3 separate regions of the Homo sapiens genome follow, and all the other regions are linked to region 3. Evidence: promoter capture Hi-C in human tissues and cell types (Jung and others, 2019). All regions are on one chromosome and are shown on one strand. The core of a region is centred on a gene start or on the middle of the fragment in contact, and the rest is flanking DNA. Distances in the headings are between cores, read along the strand shown. Region 1 overlaps TANGO6 (transport and golgi organization 6 homolog). Region 2 overlaps UTP4 (UTP4 small subunit processome component). Region 3 holds the start of ZFP90 (ZFP90 zinc finger protein).

Region 1 (4,242 bases), core at 1,495-3,994, 530 kb after region 3:
CATGTCCCTGTAGCATTTTTGGCACTTGACCAGTTAAATATTTCTCCCTTTTTCTCAGGAAAAACCACACATGATACCCGCCTCATCTCCTTTCCACCCCATCTCCAATTTGCACTTTAGATGCTCTCCTCATTTAGTAGCCAGAAAGGGTAAAAGTGCCATTTATCTCTAGGTCTAGCAGAGAAAAATACTCTTAAAATAAAAGGTTTTTGAAAAGCTCAGTAACCTCCAGTTAATAATAATGCCACTGTGAACTTCAGTGTGTTTGAGATTTTCTATCTGTCAGGCATGGGTAGAAATCTCTTAGACATTAGTAATCCTGCCTTTCTTTACTGACCGTCCTGACGCTTTCAGTGAAGTGTCTCAAAAGCCTGGTCTTTCAGGTTTGAATTGGCCCTAATTTCTTTTTCATAGACCCATCAAAGTGAAAGTTTGGGTTTTATCAGGAAAGCATTATTCTTCTTCAGTCCAGAGCTCCTGAATGAGGTCCAGATTGTCTGTGTCCATTCTGCTTCCCCAATTTATTTGTTTCCTGCCCATTATCTTAGAGAGGCCACTCGCCTCAAAGACCTTGGAGTCTGGCCCCTTTCTGCTTCCCCGGCAGAATTCTTCCTGATGCTTTCCATTCTGCAGCATAGCTTGATCAGAGCTTCCAGTGTGCCAGCTACCAACATCATCTGACCTGCGCTGGCCTGATACTGTGTTCAGACTACATTAAATTCATTTCCCCGCATCTACGCCACCTCCCTCTTCCTCTCACTCGCCTTCATTTATTCATCTGCCCAGCCACTCTGCCTTTGGCTTCTCCTCTCTAGTCTTTGTTTTCAGAGCTGTGCCTTTCCCCCTCCTATTCATTCATTCATTCATTTGTTTATTTATTTATTTATTTTGAGATGGCGTCTCGCTCTGTTGCCCAGGTTGGAGTGCAATGGCGTGATCTTGGCTCGCTGCAACCTCTGCCTCCCAGGTTCAAGCAGTTCTCTGGCCTCAGCTTCCCAAGTAGCTGGGATTACAGGCACACACCACAATGCCCGGCTAGTTTTTTTGTATTTTTAGTAGAGACAGGGTTTCACCATGTTGGCCAGGCTGGTCTTGAACTCCTGACCTAAAGTGATCTGCCCACCTTGGCCTCCCAAAGTGCTGGGATTACAGGCATAAGCCACCGCGCCCGGACTTCCCCTCCTATTCTTATTCCTTGGTGGTAAACCCAATTTTCTTAATGTGGTGGTAATAATAACAATACTTTGAATTATTTATCACTTTGCTGATGATAGTGAAATACTCTCACATACATTATCTTTTTTGATCCCCACAATATACTCGTAAGGTAGGTGGTTATATGTGCCTTATGCCTCCCACTCCATGGTAGTGAAAATAATAACCACTTTGAGAGGCTGAGGTGGGGGGATTGCTTGAGGCCAGGAGTTTAAGACAAGCCTCGGCAAAATATCAAGACCCCGTCTCTACAAAAAATTTGTTTTTGTTTTTGAGATAGGGTCTTTCTTGCTTCGTTACCCTGGCTGGAATGCAGTGGTGCAATCACGGCTCAGTATAGCCTCAACCACCCAGGCTCAAGTGATCTTCCCTCCTCAGCTTCCCAAGTAGCTGGGACCACAAATGCGTGACACCATGCCCGACTAATTCTATTATTTCTTGTAGACAAAGGGTCTTGCTGTGTTGCTCAGGCTGGCCTCAAACTCCTGGGCTCAAGCAATCCTCTCACCTTTACCTCCCGAAGTGCCGGGATCATAGGTATGAGCTACTGTGCCTGGCCTACAAAAAAAATTTTTTTTTTATTAGCTGAGGCTGGGCACGGTGGCTCATGCCTGTTATCCCAGCACTTTGGGAGGCCAAGACGGGTGGATCACCTGAGGTCAGGCATTCGAGACCATCCTGGCCAACATGGTGAAACCCCATCTCTACTAAAAATACAAAAAATTAGCCAGGCGTGTTGGCGGGTGCCTGTAATCCCAGCTACTCAGGAGGCTGAGGCAGGAGAATCGCTTGAACCTGGAGACCTGGGAGGTGAAGGTTGCAGTGAGCCAAGATTGCGCCACTGAACTCCAGCCTAGGCAACAAGAGCAAAACTCCATCTCAAAAAAAAAAAAAAAAAAACGCTGGGCGCCGTGGCACACGCCTATAATCCCAGCACTTTGGGAGGCCAAGGCGGGCGGATCATGAGGTCAGGAGTTGGAGACCAGCCTGGGCAACATGGTGAAACCCTGTCTCTACTGGCCGGGCACAGTGGCTCATGCCTCTAATCCCAGCACTTTGGGAGGCCGAGGCGGGCGGATCACTTGAAGTTGGGAGTTCAAGACCAGCCTGACCAACATGGAGAAACCCTGTCTCTACTAAAAATACAAAATTAGCTGGGTGTGGTGGCACATGACTGTAATCCCAGCTACTCGGGAGGCTGAGGCAGGAGAATTGCTTGAACCCAGGAGGCGGAGGTTGTGGTGAGCCAAGATTGCACCACTGCACTCCAGCCTGGACAACAAGAGTGAAACTCTGTCTCAAAAAAAAAAAAAAAAAAAGAAAATAAACCCCATCTCTACTAAAAATACAAAAATTAGCCAGGCATGGTGGCACATGCCTGTAGTCCCAGCTACTCGGGAGGCTGAGGCAGAAGAATTGCTTGAATCTGGGAGGCAGAGGTTGCGGTGAGCCAAGATCACACCACTGCACTCCAGCCTGGGCAACAGAGCAAGACTCTTGTCTTGAAAAAAAAAAAATTACCTGAGCATGGTGATGCACACCTATAGTCCCAACTGCTTGGGAGCCTGAGGCAGGAGGATCACCTGAGCTTCAAGGCTGCATGCAGTGAGCTATGATCGTGCCACTGTACCCCAGCCTGGGTACAGAGAGACTCTGTCTCAATAATAGTAATAGTCATAATAAAAACCGCTTTGAGAGACGGTACAGTATAGTGATTAATAAAGAACACTACTCTGGAGTCAGGCTACCAGGGTTTGAATCCTGGATCTACCCATTACTAGCTGTGTGAACCTGGGCAAATTGGAAATGATAATTGTGTTGTGGGGATTGAGTTAATGTAGACAAAATGCCTGGAATCATACCTGGCATATACCAAGTACTATGTAAGGATTAGCTACCGTTGCCATTCATTCATTCTTCAAAGATTTACTGCATGTTAGGCTCTCTTCCAGGCCTCAGTGATGTAAGAGTTACAGGATGGACATAGTCCTGGCCCTCACAGAGGTCACAGTCTTCACTGACAAACCATCACTTCTTTAGCACCCACCATTTGCAATTCCTTGTGCTTGGATCTTTGTTTTTGTTGTTGTTTTGAGATGGAGTCTCGCTCTTGTCGCCCAGGCTGGAGTGCGGTGACGCCATCTTGGCTCACTGCAACCTCCGCCTCCCAGATTCAAGCAATTCTTCTGCCTCAGCCTCCCGTGTAGCTGGGATTACAGGTGCCCGCCACCACGCCCAGGTAATTTTTTTCCTATTTTTAGTAGAGAAGGGGTTTTGCCATGTTGGCCAGGCTGGTCTCGAACTCCTGACCTCAGGTGATCCACCCGCCTCAGCCTGCCACAGTGCTGGGATTACAGGCATGAGCCACCGTACCCAGCCATGTTTTTGGATCTTTAGATACATTAATTCTTATTGCAACCTTCAGGAGGCAAACTTATTCCCATTTTATAGACGAGATCACTGGGGTTCCTAGAAGTGAAGTAGTTTGTTCAAGATTCCCTAGCTAATAATTGGGAGCTCTAGGGTCCACTTCACTCAGTTTGCCTGCCTCCTGACCATTAGGCTTAATTCTGTGTGTCTGCCTCCCCAACAGGGTGTGAGCTCCTGGGTGTGGGAGCCATTCAGCAGAATACTTAGCCTAGTCTCCTGCACACAATGTGGGAAATTTTGCTGAGTTGTTCTCTACTGACAATTCTTGACTCTCTGCCCCGTAATAGTCTCATCTGTTCCCTCTCACATCTCTTAGCCACAAAATCACATCTTGGGCAAGATGAAGGTGCTTAGAAGTTGGACTGTTGCTTTCTGACAGATTCATACCACACCTAATGCTTATTCCAACATGTTTTTAAACAGAACTAGTCGGATTCTGGAGTCTTCTCTTCTGGACCTCAATCTAGAGAATCTTTTTTTCTGCCAGGACAATCTCCAGCCACCAGCTCCAGTTCACCTCTTTCCCCTGTCTTCACCTGTCTTATTATTTCGGTGTATAACTTGCGTGTTATTCCTCTGTTTTTGTCTTTGTGCCTC
Region 2 (3,935 bases), core at 602-3,101, 620 kb after region 3:
TACATACAGTTTAATTACCTGTGTTCATATAATGTTCCTGAGAATTTTTCTGTTTTCATTGAGAATGTGAGTATTAATGAATGAGTGTGGCTATGTAGCTAGCTATGGCTAACTGTTAAGGACTTGGACTCAGTTTCCAGATTAAGCTGGTAGTTGTTTTGATACTTCCTATGGGCCTTTCACCTCTCCCTTGTCCTGGATTTTAGCTGCTGCTTCACTGTCATTTACACTCCCATCAGCCTGGAAAGTCAACTCTTTTTTTTTTTTTTTTTTTTTTTTTTTTTTGAGATGGCCTCACTCTGTTGCCGAGGCTGGAGTGCAGTGGTGCGATCATGGCTCACTGCAGCCTCACCCTCCCCAGGCTCAGAAAATCCTTCCACCTCAGCCTCCCAAGTACACAGGAGCATACCACCACACCCAGCTAAGTTTTGTATTTTTGTAGAGACAGGGTTTCACCATGTTGCCCATCCTGGTCTTAAACTCCTGGGCTGAAGCAATCCTCCTGCCTCAGCCTCCCAAAGTGCTAGGATTACAGGTGTGAGTCACCATGCCTAGTGAAAGTCAACTCTTTTATCTTCAACTCTCACTGTTCATAAGCTGATCCAGAAGCCTACAGGAGAAGAAACCCACAAGTTAGGGGTCAGATAAATCAAACTATTTATTATCTATATATGTTTTTATTACAAAACTTAGGCTATTTATCTTATATCTAGCTCTCCTTGAGATTCGACTCTACATTATGTATATGACTTTATTTTTTCCACTTCTCTCATCTCACTTCCCCTTGTAGTCAAAATGGTTTCTTCACAGCTCTCAAACCTGCATATTCTACTCCTCGTCACTTAGCTTGCACTGTTCCCCATCCTTTTTTCCTCATCCCCACCCATCCTTTGGCAGCTGGGTTATGCTTGTTATAAAGCCATGTTATCGTTTGGGGGCGTTACATGCAGCACGCATTTTGGCATAGAGCATCACTGTCCAATTTTTATCCCACACTAGTTGTCGTGTTGCCAGATTGGTTTAAAGTCTCTAGATGACAAAGATGGCTCAGACGTGCCCATCCTCCCTTAGTGCTAAATACACAGCAGGCATCCAATAAATTAAAGATATGCTTCAAGTCTATTGAACTTGCTGTTTGTCCGTAACTTTTTTTTTTATTATTAATTTATTTATTTTTGAGATAGAATTTCAAAAGACAGAGTTTCTTGTGCCCAGGCTGGAGTGCATTGGTGCCATCTCGGCTCACTGCAACCTTTGCCTCCCAGGTTCAAGTGATTCTCCTGCCTCAGCCTCCCTAGTAGCTGGGATTACAGGCACCCACAACCACGCCCAGCTATTTTTTTTTTGTACTCTTAGTAGAGATGGGGTTTCACCATCTTGGCCAGGCTGGTCTTGAACTCCTGACCTCAGGTAATCCACCTACCTCTGCCTCCCAAAGTGCTGGGATTACAGGTGTGAGCTACCACGCCTGGCCTGTCCATAATTTTGGCTTAAAAAAAATTTAGGGGCCGGGCACAGTGGCTCACACCTCCCAGCACTTTTGGAGGCCGAGGTGGGCAGATCATAAGGTCAAGAGATCGAGACCATGCTGACCAAAATGGTGAAACCCCATCTCTACTAAATATACAAAAATTAGCTGGGTGTGGTGGTGCACGCCTGTAGTCCCAGCTACTTGGGAGGCTGAGGCAGGAGAATGGCTTGAACCCGAGAGGCAGAGGTTGCAGTGAGCCGAGATTGCACCACTGCACTCCAGCCTGACAACAGAGTGAGACTCCGTCTAAAAAAAGAAAAAAGAAAGAGGCCAGGCACGGTGGCTCACGCCTGTAATCCCAGCACTTTGGGAGGCCAAGGTGGGCGGATCATCTGAGGTCAGGAGTTCAAGACCAGCCCAGCCAACATGGTGAAACCCCATCTCTACTAAAAATACAAAAATTAGCCAGGCATGGTGGTGGGTGCCTGTAATCCCAGCTAGTCAGGAGGCTGAGGCGGGTGAATCACTTGAATTTGGGAGTTGGAGGTTGGAGTGAGCGGATCCGCCACTGCACTCCAGCCCGAGTGACAGAGCTAGACTCCATCTCAAAAAAAAAAAAACAAAAAACAGAAAAAAAACCATTTGGTAGGAAAGGAGTTTGAAACAATTAAAGTATATATTTTAGTGGCAGATGCTGCCGTCATTCTCTATTCCTGTAGTAAGCAGTGTCTTAGGCCTGAGGAAGTAATAACTTCTGTTTTATCTCTCTGGACCTTCTTTACAGGCGGGATGGTTAAATAAGTAGATGAAAAAAGTAGAAACATTAACATCTAGAAGTAATTTGCACAGTGATCAGCAAATTATCCTGGCAGTGATTTAAAACTCTAATGGTCTCCTTGGCTTTTGCCATCATCTCCAGGGCAGGTCTGGCTGTGGACACTGTGTGAATTCAGAGATGTAACTGTTTTGTCCTCACAGGAACAGTGGAGGCCATGTGTCTTTTGGCAGTCAGTCCAGATGGGAATTGGCTAGCTGCATCAGGTACCAGTGCTGGAGTCCATGTCTACAACGTAAAACAGCTAAAGGTGAGCATAGGGTTTCATGGCAGCAGTTTGAATCATTGTACAGGAGCCAGTTCACCCTGCAGTTACAAGATTCAAGGCAGATTGGCATGACCTGGAAATTTATTAGACTTTTTTCTTTTTATTTTCTTTTCTTTTCTTTTTTTTTTTTTTTTGAGACAAAGTCTTACTCTGTCACCCAGGCTAGAGTGCAGTGGCGCGATCTCGGCTCACTGCAACCTCAGCCTCCCGGGTTCAAATGATTCTCCTGTCTCAGCCTCCTGAGTAGCTGGGATTACAGGTGTGTGCCTCCACACCTGGCTAATTTTTGTATTTTAATAGAGACAGGGTTTCACCGTGTTGCTCAGGCTGACCTTGAACTCCTGAGCTCAGGCAATCCGCCCACCTCGGCCTCCCAAAGTGCTAGGATTACAGGCATGAGCCACCGCGCCTGGCCAGACTTTTTTCTTTTTAACTAATAATTTTTCCAGGTTTGGAATCCTGTTTTATTTTTATGGAACCCGGAAGCTATACTGTGTAACATTAAAAGCAGCTAATGGAAACAGTGAAACCCATTCATACCTGGAAATTTGAAATTAATGATCTGTGGGTGATGTAAACACATCCAGGTTCTTTCTGTATTTTCGGGAGGAAAATTCTGATATACACAGACAAATAGTTGCAGATAATAAGAGTTCCTTTCATGGCTTGCCTTGTAATCTCAAGGTAAACATAATCAAAACTTCGAAAAAGGAATACTGGGAAAACATTTTTCACTAATCAGTAATGACGCTGTCAGTCATAAATTGAGTCATTAGTGATCCCTTACAAGTCCTCATCTTCATTATAAGAATCAGATTCGAACTACCCAAAACTTGGAATAAGCATTAAAAGTGTATAGAATAACATCAAACTGCAACACTTAATGGGTTTACCTGTTAACTGCATAGTGTAACCTTTGTTGCATTATGGTAGGAGCATGTACTGAGCACTTGTCTTTGAGCCTTGCCTGGCATTTAAAGAGTGTTTGTGTGTAGCGTGCACATGCTTTGCAATTGTACATAAAAATCCATGCCTAGGCATTTATTTATTTTAAACCTGGTGTAGAGCTGTAGACTCCCTATTCAATGACACATTTATAAGCAGTTTGTACAGATGGATTTACTCAGAGGGAAAGGCTTTACTCTCAGTTCTCCACAAACGCTGTTAGTTTTGTACGCGGTTAAATAAGCTTTTTATTTTTTTGAGACAGGGTTTCACTCTGTCACCCAGACTGAGTGCAGTGGCACAGTCACAGCTCACTGCAGCCTTGACCTCTCTGCTCAAGCGATCCTTCCACCTCAGTGTCCTGAGTAGCTGGGACTACAGGCGAGTCCCACCACACCTAGCTAATCTTTTTTTTT
Region 3 (3,944 bases), core at 65-2,564:
ATCTCGGCTCACCACAACCTCTGCCTCCCAGATTCAAGCGATTCTCCTGCCTCAGCTTTCTGAGTAGCTGGGATTACAGGCATGCGCCACCAAGCCTGGCTAATTTTGTATTTTTAGTAGAGACGAGCTATCTCCATGTTGGTCAGGCTGGTCTCGAACTCCTGACCTCAGGTGATCCGCCAGCCTCAGCCTCCCAAAGTGCTGGGATCACAGGCTTGAGCCACCGCACCCGGCATAAAGCATTTATTTTTGAATGTTCATATTTTTGATAAAGCAGTGTGACATCAGGAACATTTCGTTGCAGTCATTTTCTACCATGTTGGTATGCAATGCTCTAATGTTAAGAAATCAAGCTGAAATCTAGGAAATGTAGCCTGAATGTCTGTGATATATAAGACATAATTACATAAACGTAATAGCTGTATCTAAAAGTTGACCTATCTTTGTGTTGAAAATTTCCATCGGGCCGGGCGCGGTTGCCCATGCCTGTAATCCCAGCACTTTGGGAGGCCGAGGCGAGTTCGAGACCAGCATGACCAACATGGAGAAAACCTGTCTCTACTAAATATACAAAATTAGACGGGCCTGGTGACGCATCGCATGCCTGTAATCCCAGCTACTCGGGAGGCTGAGGCGGGAGAATCGCTTGAACCCAGGAGGCGGAGGCTGCGGTGAGCCAAAATCGCGCCATTGCACTCCAACCTAGGCAACAAGAGCGAAACTGTGTCTCAAAAAAAAAAAAGAAAATTTCCATCATTGTTTGCTTGTCCCAAACAAAATCCTGCGTAAGGGGATACGAAGTAATGAAATAACACGGCAGTAGATCTGCCTTTGCACATTGCTCAGGAGGCCACGGATTTGTCCGAAGTTTCTTTTTTCTCTAAAATGAGAAATGGAAAATTGCCTTTTGAAGAAGATGTAAATGCCCCACCCTCTGACGCTGTCTCACTCCCTTCCTGTGTCACTCTTACCGCTGAAGTCAGGACCTGACATTATCTTGTTGACATGTTTGCGTTTTTATCGTCAGCCTCGTCGAAAGGGGCGTACGATTGCTCCCCGAAACCAGGGTCTTTCCCGGCCGATTCCCCAGCTAGCAACAAGCCCCTTGCAAAGAGGAGGCGGACAGTGACTGGAATACAGGGACACGCACACTCGAGCCACACTGGCCGCCTCCCTCGGCCCTCGCAAGGGTCCCTAACGCGCCTTCGGAAGCCGCCTAGGCGGGGCCTGCGCGCGCGGGCCTCTGGGAAGTGTAGTTCGCGCGCCCGGCGTGGACCCGGGGTTGCAGGAGCGAGGCTCCGAGTGCGCAGGCGCACTTCCAGTTCTGCCCCACCGCTGCGGCCATTGTCCGACCCCGGTGCGGCTGAGGCCCCTTTGGGCAGCCCCTCCGCAGATCAGAATTGGAGATAACCGAGGCTTCGGCGGGGGCGGGAGGAGCTGCCCGAGGCTCTGGGTGGGCCGGAGGTCGCGAAATCCGGAGCCCCCCAGAGGCGGTGATTCTGAGTGCGCGGGTCTGGGCGGGACCCCTCCTGGGTTTGGCGGGTGTCAGCCGGGCCTCGCCCACCACCCTGCGAAGGGGACTGGGCGTGGCCGGAGGGGGGTGTCCGGGAGGCCGCTGAGCCTTTCATTTCGGGGATGGGGAGCGGCAGGCCCGGGCTGGTTCCACGGTCCTCGCCACCATCTCCCCTGGAGATGTGGTTTAGGGGCGGAGGTGGGGCGGGGCGGGGCGGGGTGGGGTCGGTGTTGCAGCGGGGTGAGTGGGCCCTGTCCTTTCTCCCCAGCTCCTGCCCCGGAGCCGGGCCCTGGCGAGGCAGGAATGGCCCCGAGGCCTCCGACCGCCGCGCCCCAGGTGAGCAACGCGTTCCTAACCTCCTGGGCATCCCATCCATCTATCCATCCCATCTCCCAAGGGTGTTTGGAGCAGTCATTGTTCTCTGCCTGGCGACTCCCTTACTTGCTTGGCTCGATCGGAGCCTCCTGGCCATGGAAAACCCCAGGCTTTGGGGAGCTGGATTCCCAAAGGGGAGGCTGCTCTGTGGGGTAGAGAGGGCCAGTGTGGTGCGATCTTGTGGGAGGAGTTGAGATTGGATGCGTTGGGAAGTGTCAGTTTTGAGAGTCCTGAATGCCACGCCAGTTTTTTGAACTCTTGTCAATAAGAAATGGAGAGAGTGGGGTCACAGGATGGAACACTGTAGAGGAGGAAGTGACTGTCGGCAAGTGTGGAGAGAGGAGCCCCAGCTTCTGACCCAGGGCCCATAGAGAGTCCGTAAGGGGCCGTAGAAGCCTGGTTAGAACATGTCTAGGAAGAGGCTGGAGATGGGCTTTCTTGGGCAAGGAGGCAAAAACAAAACAAAATAAAAAACAACCAAAAATAAAACCAGGGCTGATTCTCCCAGAGCTTTTTGTGTCTGTCCTTTTCTGCTTTAACAAAAATGTAATAGAGCAACTCACTCCCCACCGCCAGAAGTCCAGCCTTCACCTTAATGTGAGGCTGATTCGTGAACCCATTTATTCTTGTGGCAGAGGGGGCATTTTCTAGAAGCGTCACAACTCTAAGGTTATCCATTGATTTACATATTGGTGAAAATACATCAAGATCCAGATGGTATCTGTATCTTTGAATCTACATTCTCTTTAGAATTAAGGGAAAATGACAGATTGTAGTTGCTAGGTGTGTGAGACATCAAGATCAATTCAAATAAAAATACCAAGTTGCCAGGTACAGTGGGTCACACCTGTAAGTCCAGCACTTTGGGAAGCTGAGGCAATAGGATCGTTTAAGCCCAGGAATTTGAGACCAGCCTGGGCAACATAGTGAGACTCCGTCTCTGCAAAAAAAAAAAAAAAAAAAAAATTTAAAAGATAAAAACACCAACTTAGTAATGTCCTTTAAAAGAGCAGTTTATAGTGAATTAAGCATACAATACATCATGCCTTTTTTTTTTTTTTTTTTGAAACAGGGTCTCTTGTCACCCAGTCTGGAGTACAGTGACATGATCTTGGCTCACTGCAACCTCTGCCATGGTGCACGCCACCATGCCCGGCTAATTTTTGTATTTTTTGGTTTATTTTATTTTTTGAGACAGTCTCATTCTGTCACCCAGGCTGAAGTGTAGTGGCATGATCTCGGCTCACTGCAACCTCCACCTCCTGGGTTCAAGTGATTCTCCTGCCTCAACCTCCCTAGTAGCTGGGATTAACAGGTGTACACCACCACACCCGGCTAATTTTTTTGTATTTTAGTAGAGTCAGGGTTTTACCATGTTGGCCAGTCTGGTCTCGAACTCCTGACGTCAATTGATCCGCCCACGTTGGCCTCCCAAGGTGCTGGGATTACAGATGTGAGCCACCACGCCTGGCCTAATTTTTGTTTTTTTTTGTAAAGATGGGGTTTCTCCAGGCTGGATTTGAATTCCTAAGCTCAAGTGATGTGCTCGCTTCAGCCTCCCAAAGTGTTGGGATTACAGGTGTGAGCCACCACAGCTGGGCATGTGCCACCATGCCCAGCTAATTTTTGTATTTTTAGTAAAGATGGGGTTTCACCATGTTGGCCAGGATGGTCTCGATCTCCTGACCTCCCAAAGTTCTGGGATTACAGGCGTGAGCCACCGGGCCCGGCCTGCGTTTTTATATATATATATACTTCTTATTATATGTTTCTGTTTTTACAGGGATGAGCCTTAAGGAGTAAGACACCTGCCAATACTAAAACAAGACAGTTACTTGGTTTGAGGAGAGCCAGAGCACATCATGATCGTTATCCCCTTTACATGCAAAGTATCCTCCATAGGCTTGTGAGAATTAGATGACTTAACACCTCATCAGGGACTCTGGTCTTTTCCATAGTGGGAGGATACCTTTTTAGTGGTGAAAGTGGATTCATGTTCTGAGCAGTGAATTTTAAGGACCACTGTAAACTTGACTTTTCAAGCTATGTTCCCTGA

Evidence for each region. Contacts are between HindIII fragments. The study calls those that stand out against the background at their distance.
Region 1: a contact is called between a fragment that was not itself captured here and the fragment with the promoter of ZFP90 in region 3, in 1 of the 25 tissues and cell types used here (neural progenitor cells).
Region 2: a contact is called between a fragment that was not itself captured here and the fragment with the promoter of ZFP90 in region 3, in 3 of the 25 tissues and cell types used here (dorsolateral prefrontal cortex, lymphoblastoid cells and mesenchymal stem cells).

What each region holds. Positions count from the first base shown.
Region 1 is chr16:69,065,423-69,069,664 of GRCh38, forward strand. All of the region lies in intron 17 of TANGO6 (transport and golgi organization 6 homolog), which reads left to right. Among named protein-coding and RNA genes, the nearest start is that of HAS3, 38 kb to the right of the region's middle. The HindIII fragment of the contact is 7,887 bases long and covers 1-4,242 here.
Region 2 is chr16:69,157,907-69,161,841 of GRCh38, forward strand. UTP4 (UTP4 small subunit processome component) reads left to right here. Exons shown (of 17, transcript NM_032830.3): 13 at 2,450-2,556. Among named protein-coding and RNA genes, the nearest start is that of UTP4, 27 kb to the left of the region's middle. The HindIII fragment of the contact is 5,469 bases long and covers 1-3,935 here.
Region 3 is chr16:68,537,977-68,541,920 of GRCh38, forward strand. It overlaps ZFP90 (ZFP90 zinc finger protein), which reads left to right and starts at 1,315. Exons shown (of 5, transcript NM_001305203.2): 1 at 1,315-1,503; 2 at 1,782-1,849. The coding sequence starts at 1,817. The HindIII fragment of the contact is 20,432 bases long and covers 1-3,944 here.